4 separate regions of the Homo sapiens genome follow, and regions 1, 2 and 4 are each linked to region 3. The links are contacts of gene promoters, found by promoter capture Hi-C in blood cells and fetal thymus (Javierre and others, 2016). All regions are on one chromosome and are shown on one strand. The core of a region is centred on a gene start or on the middle of the fragment in contact, and the rest is flanking DNA. Distances in the headings are between cores, read along the strand shown.

Region 1 (3,458 bases), core at 842-3,341, 220 kb before region 3:
GGAAGCTCAACAGGCCTGTCTCAGGGTGACTATTTGCTCTGTGCCTTGCCCAGAGACCACCCATTGTGAGTTACCATTCAGAGGTCATCCCTTCTCACTTGGAGTGGATCAAAGACAACAGGGACCAAAAGGAGAAAGTTTGAGCTTTGCCAGGCTGATATTGGGTGCTGAATGAGGTGGCTAGTATCTGTTTTGTTATGTGTATTTTGCTGGAATTGAAAATGTTAATTCATTTCCCCACGTAGCCCATTGGGCAACATCTTGCAAAATTGAGAATATTTTCTCCATGGCTTCATCAAACAGAATTTTCTTTTGTAAAGTGGCTTGACCCTCACAGCTATGGCACAGATAGCAGGGTCATCAAAAGCTGCTCCATTCTTCTGGAAGCTACAGAGAAAGGGAACCTGGAAACCTGGTATGCTGGCAAAAAGGGTAAGAAATTCTTACCAGCCAAGTTTCTCGTCTCATTCTCTCTCTCTCTCTCTCCCTCTGTGTGTGTGTGTGTGTGTCTCTCTCTCTATCTCTCTCTGACTCTCTCTCTCTATTCTCTCTCTCTGACTCTGTGTGTGTGTGTGTGTGTATAAATGGTAAACGTCACTATTTGTCTTCTCTGCAAGAGTTTGATTGATAGAAAAAAGGATTTGTGAGACTAGTCTTAGGCTGTAGCAAATCTGATGCACGTTGTGCTAAGAATTTTTCTTTCTGTAATGGAGACAGGGGTATCACAGGATAGAATGTGGGTTTGAGATCCGTATAACCCTGCTTTCAAGCCAGGCCAGCAGGCTAATCAGCTACAAACTTTGTTGCGTGTCCCTGAAACCAATACCAAATGAAATTTCGTCTTGTTTTGTGTCCTTAAGAGCTTAACCCTGGGACTGTGTGGGGATATTTTCTCTTGGTCTCCACCATCTAGAGGACAGAAACTTGGGGGTTCACATTATAGTTAGCCCTAAAAATTATCTTGAGCAGTTAAAAGCCTTTTCATGCTTGAAATTGGCTGCTCTAGGCTTCTGGAAAGAGCAATAGAAACTGCTCAATGCTGTGTAGCTCAGTAGCTGACGCTTTATCTTTTGACAATTGTGGCAAGGGTTCAATTCTTGGCTTCCGGAAGCATTCCTTCCTGGTTTGTTATTTGTGTAACTTTGCCATTTATTGAGGGTTTTTTCGCCCATGGATAGCCTCTGATTTCCTGTCTTGAATTTTCCTTTCCCTGAACTACCCTTGGGGAGATTCTAAATCTTGTAAAAATAGAAACTACTTACCGTCTCTTTGAGATATCTTATGCATCCATAGTTAAGTTAACCTTAGTTAAAACTTATTAATTAATTTCATGTGGGAAATTACCTATGGCAGAATTCAAAAGCCAGAAATATTGGCTGTTCTAGCTAGAGTCTGGTAATAAAAGATTTAAAAGAATTTCTTTTTAGAAAAAAATAGCTCTATGGCTAAAATCAGCTTAATTAAAAACAGATATCCAAGTTAAATGTATTTAAGAGAGCTTTATCTTTTTCCTCTTCTGGAATCATGTTCTTCTGAAAGTTTTTTTCTTTTCAGTAGACTGAATTGTTTTTCTCCATTTTGTCTTCTTCCCACTCTTGATGCCCACATGAGAGAACCTAAGATAAATTCTAACAGCCTGGGACTCCTGGGGAAAAGCAGAGGAGGCACCACAGAAAAACCTAGGAAAAACCTCTGTTTTCGTCACAGAAGCCCAAGAATGGAAAGAGAATAGATCCCTCTCAAAATCTAAGACACTGTTCTGTTTTGCATTGTATTACCTGACAGTTTTGACTTTTGGGGGTATCAAAAATTACTTTGTGTTATGGGAGAGCTTTTAGCCTTGGTGTGTAATAACTAGGTAGGAAATATACTTTAAGGGATGGCTAATGGCAGTTATGGAGAGATACTTGGCTCTTTACATGCCTGGATCAGAGAAGCTTGCCCTTGGCCACCTGGAAGATATGGAAACATACCCACCTCCTACTGAGAGGTGAGACTCTCAGGGGAATGGGCTGATTACACAATGGACTGATTGGCTTTGGGTTGCCTTGCAATGAAATGCATGGTGAAAACACTGCACAGTTTGAATTGTCATTATCCAGTTTTAGAGACAAGGTTACTCTAGCTTCATAAAATAAGTTGGTAAAAATTTTCCATCTTTTTCTATTATCTTGAAGAATGCATGCATGATAGAGATGATCTATTTCTTAAAATTTTAGAACTCACCTATAAACCCATAGTGTACTGAAGCTTTTGTTGGGAAAAGGTCTTTAATTAATATTTCAAATTTTTAATGGTTATTTATATATTTGAGTTTTATTATCTGAAGCTACTGGTGATTTTTAAATTTTTAGTTTTTCAAATTCATTGGCATAAAAGTTATTCAGAACATTATGCAGAATTTTGTTGTTTTCTTATATGTTTGACTCTGTTAGTTGTCTTTTCAACACCCATTTCCGTCTCACTATCATCCCCTCTCCATTTCTTCCTTGATAGAAGATATCTAATTTATTTCAGATATTTAGCCCTTCATGAAGTTCCCTCACATGCATATGCTAATCAGTACATTGCTGAACACTCAAGGGGGAATTTCTATAAATCTTTAGGATTCTCTTTCTATGGAGTTTTCTCTTCCTCAATACTCTGCCTTGTGAACTCTAGCTTCTTTGGACTCCCTTCCCCTTCTCCTCGACACAGAAAGATTGCCAGGCTGCAGCTGAGTTTGCCCTCTCTTTGACGTAGCATGGAATCTCTCCCTAACGAATTGAAACAATCACTTTCCAGTAAACAAGACTCACCTTTTTTGTTTCCTATCTCTTGGGGATCACTGTCCTCCATTGCCTGATGTCCAGTGCCTTCAGAAACATTATTTCACATATTTTGTTCAGTCTTTTAGTTATTTCAAGTGACAGGGTAATCTAGCTCCTGTTACTTCATATTGACCAGCTAAAGTCCCTCTTGAGTATATAAAATCATGCTATACCAGCATATCAAAGCACAATTTAACTCTTATCTCCTCACTGGGTTCATGGTTGGATTTGCGGCTGCATGAGCCTCATCCTTCTCCACAGTCAAGAGAGATCAGGCCAGGCACGGTGGCTCATGCCTGTAATCCCAGCACTTCAGAAGGCCGAGGTGGGTGGACCACCTGAGGTTGGGAGTTCTAGACCAGCCTGGTCAACATGGTGAGACCCCGTCTCTACTAAAAATACAAAAATTAGCCGGGCATGGTGGCGTATGCCTGTAATCTTAGCTACTCAGGATGCTGAGTCAGGAGAATCTCTTGAACCTGGGAGGCAGAGGTTGTGGTGGGCTGAGATCCAGCCATTGCATTCCAGCCTGGGCAACAAGAGCGAAACTCTGTCTAAAAAAATAAAATAAAATAGAGTTCTATTTCACAGCTGAAGCTTTCATATCTTAGAAGGACTATGCATCACAGTGAAAGAAAATATACGTCT
Region 2 (3,056 bases), core at 532-3,031, 170 kb before region 3:
TTGGCTGTTCAGACTCTTTTTTGATTCCATATGAATTTTAAAATAGTTTTTCTAGTTCTGTGAAGAATGTCATTGGTAGTTTGATAGGAATAACATTGAATCTGTACATTGCTTTTGGCAGTATGGCCATTTTAATGATATTAATTCTTCCTATCCATAAGCATAGACTGTTTTTTCCATTTGTTTGTGTCATCTCTGATTTCTTTGAGCAGTGTTTTGTAGTTCTCTTTGTAGAGATCTTTCACCTACCTAGTTAGCTGTATTCCTAGGTGTTTTATTCTTTCTGTGGCAATTGTGACTAGGACTGTGTTCCTGATTTGGCTTTGGCTTGACTCTTGTTGGTATATAGCAATGCTAGCAATTTTTGTACATTGATTTTGTATCCTAAAACTTTGCTGACGTTATCAGCTTAAGGAGCTTTTAGGCCAACATTATGGGGTTTTCTATATGTAGAGTCATGTCACCTGCAAACAGAGATAGTTTGACTTCCTCTCTTCCTATTTGGATGTGCTTTCTTTCTTTCTCTTGCCTGATTGCTCTGACCAGGACTTCCAATACTATGTTGAATAGGAGTGTTGGGAGAGGACATCATGTCCTATGCTGGTTTTCCAGGGGAATGCTTCCACCTTCTGCCCATTCAGTATAATGTTGGCTGTGGGTTTATCATAGATGGCTTTTATTTATGTTCATGTATGTTTGGTCAATACCTAGTTTATTGGGAGTTTTTAACATGAAGAGGTGTTGAACTTTATCAAAAGCCTTTTCTTCATCTATTGAGATAATCATGTGGTTTTTGCCTTTAGTTCTGCTTATGTGATGATGTGATGAATCACATTTATTGACTCATTTATGTTGAACCAACACAAATGTCAGGAATAAAGCCTACTTGATCATGGTGGATTAGCTTTTTGATGAGCTGCTGGATTCAGTTTGCTAGTATTTTTTTTTTTGAGTATTTTTGCATCAATGTCCATCAAGGATATTGACCTGAAGTTTTCTTTTTGTGTTGTGTCACTGCCAGATTTTGGTACGAGGATGATGCTGGCCCCATAGATTGAGTTGGGGAGCAACTCCTCCTCAGTTATTTGGGAACAGTTTCAGTAGAAGTGGTACCAGTTTTCTTTGTCCATCTATAAGAATTTGTCTGTGAATCTACCTGATCCTGGGCTTTTTTTGATTGGAAGGCTATTTACTACTAATTCAATTTCAAAGTTTTTTGTTGGCCTGTTCAGACATTTAATTTTTCCTGGTTTAGACTTGGGAGTGTGTATGTGTATAGGAATTTTTCTATTTATTCTAGATTTTCTAGTTTGTGTACATAAAATTCATGGTAGTCTCTGATGGTTATTTGTATTTCTGTGGGGTCAGTGGTAACATCCCCTTTGTCATTTCTAATTGTGTTTATTTGGATCTTCTCTCTTTTCTTCTTTATTTGTCTAGCTAGAGGTCTATTTATCTTATTCATTTTTTTTCAAAAAACAAACTCCTAGATTAACTGATCTTTTGATGGTTTTTGATGACTGAATCTCCTTCAGTTCAGCTCTGATTTTGGTAATCTCTTGACTTCTGCTAGCTTTAGGGTTGGTTTACTCTTGCTTCTCTAGTTCTTTTAGTTGTGATGTTAGGTTGTTAACTTGAGACGTCTCTAACTTTTTGATGTGGGCATTTAGTGCTACCAATTTCCCTCTTAACACTCCCTTAGCTGTGTCCCAGAGATTGTGGTATGTTGTAGCTTTGTTCTCATTAGTTTCAAAGAACTTCTTGATTTCTGCCTTAATTTCATTTATTTACCCAAAAGTCATTCAGGAGCAGGTTGTTTAATTCCCATGTAATTGTACGGTTTTAAGCAAATAGTCTTAAATTCTATGTTTATAGCCCTGTGGTCCAGGAGAGTGGTTGGTATGATTTCAGTTCTTTGGCATTTTCTGAGGAATGTTTTACTTACGATTGGGTGGTCAATTTTAAAGTATGTGCCATGTGCAGGTTAGAAGAATGTATATTCTGTTATTTTGGGGTGGAGAGTTCTGTAAATATCTATCAATCAGGTCCATTTGGTCCAGTGTTGAGTTCAGGTCCTAAATATCTTTGTTAATATTCTTCCTTGATGATCTAGCTAATACTGTCAATGGGGTGTTGAAGTCTACCACTATTATTGTGTAGGAGTCTAAGTGTCTTTCAGGGTCTCTATAAACTTGCTTTATGAATCTGAGTGCTCCTGTGTTGGGTACATATATATTTAGGATACGTAGGTCTTCTTGTTGAGTTGAACGCTTTACCATTATGTAATGCCCTTTTTTGCCTTTTTTGATGTTTGTTGGCTTAAAGTCTATTTTGTCTGAAATTAGAATTGCAACTCCTGCTGCTTTCTCTTTCCTGTTTCCTTGGTAGATTTTTCTCTGTCCCTTTATTTTGAGCCTATGGGTGTGATTGCAAATAAGATGGGTTTCTTGAAGACAGCATACCATTGGATCTTGATTTTTTATCCAGTTTGTCACTCTATACCTTTTAATTGGGGCATTTAGCCTGTTTACATTCAAGGTTAATATTGATATGTATGGATTTGATCCTGTCATCATGTTGTTGGCTAGTTAATATGCATACTTATTTGTGCGGTTGCTTTATAATGTCACTAGTCTGTGTACTTTATTGTGTTTTTGTAGTGGCTGGTAATGGTCTTTCCTTTCCATATTTAGTGCTTTTTTCAGGAGTTCTTATAAGGCATGTTTGGTGGTAATGAATTCCCTTAGCAGTTTCTTGTCTGAAAAGGATCTTACTTCTCCTTTGCTCATGAAGTGTTTCATTTTTTGTCAATACCACACTATGTTAATTATTGTAGCTTAATAATATATCTTACTTGCATAGTATGAATTCTTCAATCTTGTTCTCTAATGAACTTTGATGTAAAACCTGTCACCAGGCTACAGATTATAGGTTAGCTTTTCCAGATATGTCAATAGGAATTTTCAAACATGTGAATGAAATCACAATAATCTCATTATATATTATCAAATTTATGAATATCATGCTGATGGGAAGGCATTAGAGTATAAGCAATT
Region 3 (3,295 bases), core at 271-2,770:
TGGGCAAGACAGGCAGTACCAGGAGGAAGGAAAGGGGGAGCAGTTGATGACATCTCAGGCATAAACTGTCTTTCAACTCTCTTTCAATGCTTCAGCCCCTATAAACTCAGGGCTGGCTGAACCAGGTCCTCTCCAAAAGATTAATTGGATAAGGGCCTGCTGAATCCCCCATAAAGCCAGACTCCATTCTCTAATTTGCTCTTCCACTGATGCCCGCCCCCAACCTCTTACAGCTACTGCTGGGGGTCAGAAGAATTTCACATCGTATTGGAGTTCATCCGGAATCTGAAGAATGGATAGGAATCTGGAGATAGGAATCTGGAGATAGGAATCTGGGGAAGAAAAGGAATGGATAGGAGAATGCATAGGGAGCAGGGCTGAAATAGTAGAAGAGGCAAATCCTGCCCCGAGAAGCTGAACCCAGTTCAGTCCTGCACCCTTCAGCCCTGTTCCCGCTGCACCGCAGTGACCCAGTCCCCTTCTAGCCCCCTCTCGTGGGAACCTGACACCCTACACAGGCAGCTCTGCCTGCACTGAGAGCAAACAGGGAGCGTTAGCGTGTCGGGTGGGCGTGGGCGCTGCCTGGAGACGGTGGAGAAAGCCAACCTTCTCCTTCTCTTTTGCCTGCGCTGGGCCGGCGTTAGAATTATATCCCATCCTCACCTTACTCTGGTTTATCCTTGTCAGTGCTTGCCACCACCCCCAACTGCCCTCAACACTCAAGTCAGAAGCTTCCTCCCGGGAGCCCTTTTCCCTGGCAAGGCTTCCCTGGAGCCAAATCTCGGCCCCGGCCCCACCCCCACTCCCGCCCAGCTGTGGAGGGCTCCTTGGGACCCTTAAGTGCAAGCCTGAGTGTTAAGCCTCAGACAGGAGATGGAGGGTGCGGAGACAGATGCAGGAGCTACCCCAGGCCCGCAGCGAGGAGCTGCAGGGAACTACGGTAGCAATAGTGTCACGGTCACTGCGGCCACTGCAACACAGTACGGTAAATGCGGCTCTAGGCTCAGACTAAAGCATCCGCGCCTCAGCAGGTGACGCACGCAGACCTGGTCTCCAACGCCACCTCCACGTTCCCTGATACACCAGAGAAAGATGCTGGATCCGTGGCAGCCGTCTCTACCCAACCCCTCCTACCCTCCCTTCCCCGAAACCTCCCCCTACGCTGCCAATACTCTTGTCTTCAATCTCTCTCTCTCTCTCTCTCTCTCTCTCTCTCTCTCTCTCTCTCTCTCATTCCTGGGAATCGGGGGTGGGGGCGGGTGATAAAGAGAGGTGGGCAGGAGAGAAATCTCTAAGAGGAGACGGGACACATCTAGGGAGGGGGCGAGCCTGGAGGACAGTCGCACAGGGAGGGGCAGAACTCCCGAGCCAGGGAGGGGGTGCACAGTCACCTGGCGGGACAGAGGCTGGCGGAGGGACGGGAACCCAGGCGGGGCGAGCCGCGGGAGAGTGGAGGGCAGGCGCCTGGGCTGGGGGCGGGGACCAGGCGGGGCAGGGGGCAGGGAGAGGAGGGCGGCGGGAGCCTGAGCCGGAATCGCAGCGTGAGCAGGTGGAGCCGCGTTGGGAGCCCGCCGGGTCGAGCTGAGTAAGGCGGCGGGCTCGGCGGGGGCCATGGAGCTGCTAAAGCTGAACCGGAGCGTGCAGGGAACCGGACCCGGGCCGGGGGCTTCCCTGTGCCGCCCGGGGGCGCCTCTCCTCAACAGCAGCAGTGTGGGCAACCTCAGCTGCGAGCCCCCTCGCATTCGCGGAGCCGGGACACGAGGTGGGTGCCTCCCTCAGCCCCCCCCACAAGCTATTTCTCACTGTACCCCAGAACACTAATAGAGTCCCCCCAACGAGCTCCACACTACCTTCTCAAACGTCCACACCGTGCCTCTCATAGTACTCCCTCAGCCCCCAAACAGCTCCCCTCACACCTTCACCCCCACAGCCTACAACTTCATCACAGCTTCACACCACCTGGTCGGAACTCCTTCACATCCTGGTCCCCTGAATACACCTAGAGCCCCTGCTCACCCCAAAGCACAGCCCCTTCCCCAACACGCAGCCCCTCCTAGACACCAGTCAGAAGGCGAGGACCTCCTCTTGCCAACCCTGCAGATCTCCTTTTCCCTCTTACATCCAGTTCACAGAGCCACAACAGAGAAGGGAAGGAAGAAAGGAAGGCAGGACTGGGAAAAGAAGGGGGCTGGTTGAGGGAGGGAGCACTCTGGAAAGCTTGAATGCGAAGCTGAAGTTGTGATCACATCTGACACCCCAGCCCCCAGCCATCCCAAAAAAGATCCTCAAATCTGAATTAGGCTGGACACTAGGGGATGCTCCTTAGAGCTGCCTGCCTCCATTTCACTCCTTCTCAAACCCCTCTGCCTCCCTAGTTGGAGCTTTCGAGGCTCTGTGCCCTCTCTCTTTGTCTGCAAGTAATGTCTCCAGCTATCTTCCAAGCTCTCTCTCCAGCCCTAGGCTAGGTGCTGGGGGCACAGGGCAAACTAGACCCAGTCTGGACCCTCATGGCCCATAGCCAAGTGCAGAGAGAAACCAAGCAAATGGAAAAATCACAGACACAATGGAAGTCCCATGAAAGGGTCTAAACTGTGGGCACCAAAAGAACTTCACAGAGGCTAGAACCTTAGAGCTGGGTCTTGAAGTTGAGTAGGCAGAAAAGGAAGGAGTGGGATTCTAGGTGAAGGAGCAATGTTAAGCAGAAGGAAATTTTTCTAAACTCAAAAAGGGAAAGTTGGAATAAATTGTAATCCAAGTATTTATTTACCCCACGAAATAATCTATGCTTTCTCAGCCGAGTTGTTACACACTCACACTTGGATTCTGTCATTCAGCCAATATTTATTGAACCAGAGATTGTGCTAGGCAGTGGGAATGTAAGTTGAACAAAACCGACACAATTCCTACTTCACAGAGCTCAAAGTTTAATGGGCGAGACAGAAAAGCAGGGGATTGCAGCACAAAGTGGAAGAGCCTTGACAGGGAAAAGATAGTGGGAACACAAGTGGAACACCTCTAGCCCAGCCCAGCCTCCTTGAGAATTAAAGTTGGCCTCTTGAGGAAATGAGCTACAAAGTCAAAAAAATTAGGGAGGCTGGCTCTAAGCTTCCTGTTGGCAAAAAAAAAAAAAAAAAAAAATATATATACACACACACACACACACACACACACACACACACACATATACATATGGGAGAGCCAGCCAAGTGAACGGGCAGAAGAGGCAGAAAGCATCCCAAATAAAAGGACAAGATGTATAAGAAGCTCAAAGTTTGAATTCATGGCACTTTTATCC
Region 4 (2,991 bases), core at 239-2,738, 240 kb before region 3:
TACAATTAGAAAGGAGAAACAAGTACTAGTGTTTTACAGAACTAAAGGATGATAATAGTCAACAATATATTGTATATTTTCAAATAGCTAGAAGAAAGAATATTGAATATACCCAACACAAAGTAATGATAAATGTTTGAGATGATGGATATGCTAATTACCCTGATCTGCTCACTACACGTTGTATGTAACTTCATAAATATGTATAATTATTATGTATCAATTTTAAAATGAATAATTAAATAAAAAATTATTTAAAGTACTGATACTAATATTTTATAAGTAGAAAGTAGGTTCAAATGCAGTGTCACTCCAAAAGAAGTCACATTGTTCGATGCCTGCTTCATTTAGGATAATGGGAACATTAATAAAGGCACATTTAGGATAATGGGAACATTAATAAAGGCACAAACCCCCAAAGGCAGATGGCATTAAAAAAACAATAAAAAGCAATGATCAGGACATTGAAAACAATGATCAGGAGAGTTCCTCCTAGAGAACGCAAACAATGTCTAGTCAAGAAACTTGTCCCCCTCTCAGTAAGTAAAAATATTGCAATATCTGCTCCTAAAGCATTCTCGCATTACTATTAAGTTACTGCTAACTGAATTCTACACTTCATTTCCAGTTGGAAATCATCTGCTCCGCCATTAATAGAGAGACAGAATATCACTGGTGAAAGAGAAATCACAATGGGATCTGATGGAGAAGGCCACACACATCTGTAGGTCTTGGATTTTTTGCTGCATAGAGTAATCAGATGAGAGCTTGGGTGGTCTCCCTTGATAAGGAGGTAAGCCTATTGTCTATGTAGGAAAAAGAGAAATGAAAATTTATGATCAAGGCTCTTTTGCAAGCAGCTGGATCTATGTGAGGAGTCTGGCCGATGAAATGATAGAGAAAGTGATGTGTCTCCTAGTTTGGGGCCCTAAAGCTTACAAAATCCTGCATATTCTTTCTCTTTCTGGCTTGCCACCCAGATTCAGAAGCACCAGTGAAGGTCTCTAAGAGCCCAGAACATGGAGGATCCACATAATAAAAAAAGCATGGGTCCCTAAATGTTGATGTGGAGCAAAGCCCTCATGCATTGGAATGAGGTGTGGGTGAGAAGTAAATTTTATTGTGTTAGGCCACTGTGCTATCATTGTTACAGTAGCTAACTTTAATTGCATTGACTAATTCAATGCGTGTGGGTTTTTAGTGTACTCTGCCTTTGATATCTATAATCTGGAGTATGAAAAACTTAGGAAACTACAAAGCTATCCAGTGAAAGATTAAAAATATACCTCAATCCCTAGACTCTGAAGAAGCAAAAATGGGTTTATGTAGCAAAATGCCTTACTTCTCAATTTTAACTCTGGTCCCTATTGATTAAATGACTATGTATAATTTATCATTTTGCTCAGTTGCCTCATCTGCAAAAATGGGAATTATAATTCATGGGCTATTTTGACCATAATCTCTCTAAAACTTAGTTTTCCTGTATGTTCAGAGTGCTAATCACACGTAAAGAACTCAATAACTAATTTTTGGTTGAATAGGTGCAGAAATGTTGTTATTATATACAGTACTCAGCCAAATGCTGATAGTGTAATATGTTATGAAACACTAAGGATATTCACTATTCTTATGAATACCTGACTCATGTCAGTGATTTGGTATTGACTTTTAAATGTTGCTGAAGAAAAGAAAATCATGGTATAAATTGGTATGTCTCTTTTATTTGTTAAATTAATCACTCAAGTCCCTATGTGCCCTATGAGCAGGAAGTACAGGAGTTTTCTAAACGGACTTGTCACGTTCTCTTTCAAACACCTGAGACTGAGAACTGGCATTCAATACAGTACCGTTATTCCCACAAATAGCCACAAAGGGGCAATGTTGACTTGCCAACTATGAAGAGTTTGCTTAACTTCAGACGTTGCTGTTTAAGTTCTACAGTTGCAGTCTTGATGCTATAAACTTTCTCTGATGTCTCAGAACTCTCACTGCCTAGAATATACACCAAAGCATAATAAAGTATCAGGATGGCTAGGCACTAAAAAGCTTTCTGTGATAAATGGAAAGTGTAGTATTGTTCCCTCAACAATACTTAGGTGTTTGTTTTGAGCTTTGGCTACCAACATAGGGTCCCTTCTTTTTCCACCTTAATTCCAGAGGACTTGCTATTCTTTCTTTCCACTGGCCTTGATTTAAGTCAGCTATGGTATTGAATAGCAATGTGCAATGATATCAGATCTTCCTGCTCAAGAGGCTGTGTTCCTCACACAAATATGACTAACCTGCAAACCAGGGAGTGAGGGGAGTGACCTTTGGAAAGCTACTCCTGTCTCTCTTCTCATGTTCTGAATGCACCCTCTTCCAATGCAGTTGGAACATATTCAGGTTGTATCAGCAAAGCAAATCTTCATAGACTTCCTCAGTTTTGAAAAACTGACAAAACATTGGTACCCCATCCATTTAAAATGCCTTTAATTTATACTACTTCATTATATCCACTCAAGACAGTGCTTGAAAACCTTTACAGAGAGGACATGTTTTAACATTTTGCTATGGGAACTTCACAGCAGAGTTGGGTCTGCCCTTCATGGTCTGATTCTTTGGTTATCTTGCTCCTTTATCATCTGTATGAGGATTTACTTCAAAGCCTATCTAGGACCCTTGAGACCAGTTATTTTACCACTTGCAGTGAGCTTGACAATTTTGTGAGAAATCTGTGGTCCTCTAAACCTCTATACTTAGAACCAGAGCAGAGAGCCAACTTTTCAAGTATGTGGTTTATCCATTTGTTACGTTTAGGACTCTACTACTGGGGAACTAGAGATTAAAGATAGACATGATTTTTCAACTCTTCTTTTAGCCAATTCAATATCATAAGTAAGGAAATGTTTACTGAGCCCCTCAATATGTGAGAGCTGTGCTAGTTACTGTGAGGGGTGATCACTGTTGTCCCACTGCTGTCTTGGTCCCTCCATCCTTTACAAATCCCTA

The links. Contacts are between HindIII fragments. The CHiCAGO score rates a contact against its expected background, and 5 or more counts as called.
Region 1: a contact is called between a fragment that was not itself captured here and the fragment with the promoter of CCKBR in region 3, in 1 of 17 cell types (M1 macrophages). The highest score is 5.6, in M1 macrophages.
Region 2: a contact is called between a fragment that was not itself captured here and the fragment with the promoter of CCKBR in region 3, in 1 of 17 cell types (monocytes). The highest score is 5.5, in monocytes.
Region 4: a fragment that was not itself captured here is called in contact with the fragment with the promoter of CCKBR in region 3 in 4 of 17 cell types (M2 macrophages, M0 macrophages, M1 macrophages and 1 more); the score reaches 7.5 in M2 macrophages.

The regions. Positions count from the first base shown.
Region 1 is chr11:6,039,988-6,043,445 of GRCh38, forward strand. No RefSeq gene overlaps it. Among named protein-coding and RNA genes, the nearest start is that of OR56A1, 11 kb to the left of the region's middle. The HindIII fragment of the contact is 313 bases long and covers 1,936-2,248 here.
Region 2 is chr11:6,091,052-6,094,107 of GRCh38, forward strand. No RefSeq gene overlaps it. Among named protein-coding and RNA genes, the nearest start is that of OR56B4, 15 kb to the right of the region's middle. The HindIII fragment of the contact is 9,529 bases long and covers 1-3,056 here.
Region 3 is chr11:6,258,318-6,261,612 of GRCh38, forward strand. It overlaps CCKBR (cholecystokinin B receptor), which reads left to right and starts at 1,521. Exons shown (of 5, transcript NM_176875.4): 1 at 1,521-1,762. The coding sequence starts at 1,612. The HindIII fragment of the contact is 1,486 bases long and covers 730-2,215 here.
Region 4 is chr11:6,021,296-6,024,286 of GRCh38, forward strand. It overlaps OR56A1 (olfactory receptor family 56 subfamily A member 1), which reads right to left. Exons shown (of 2, transcript NM_001388488.1): 2 at 1-2,991. It overlaps LOC107984303 (a long non-coding RNA gene), which reads left to right and starts at 705. Exons shown (of 4, transcript XR_001748102.2): 1 at 705-793. It also overlaps a transcript of OR56A3 not described here. The HindIII fragment of the contact is 1,112 bases long and covers 933-2,044 here.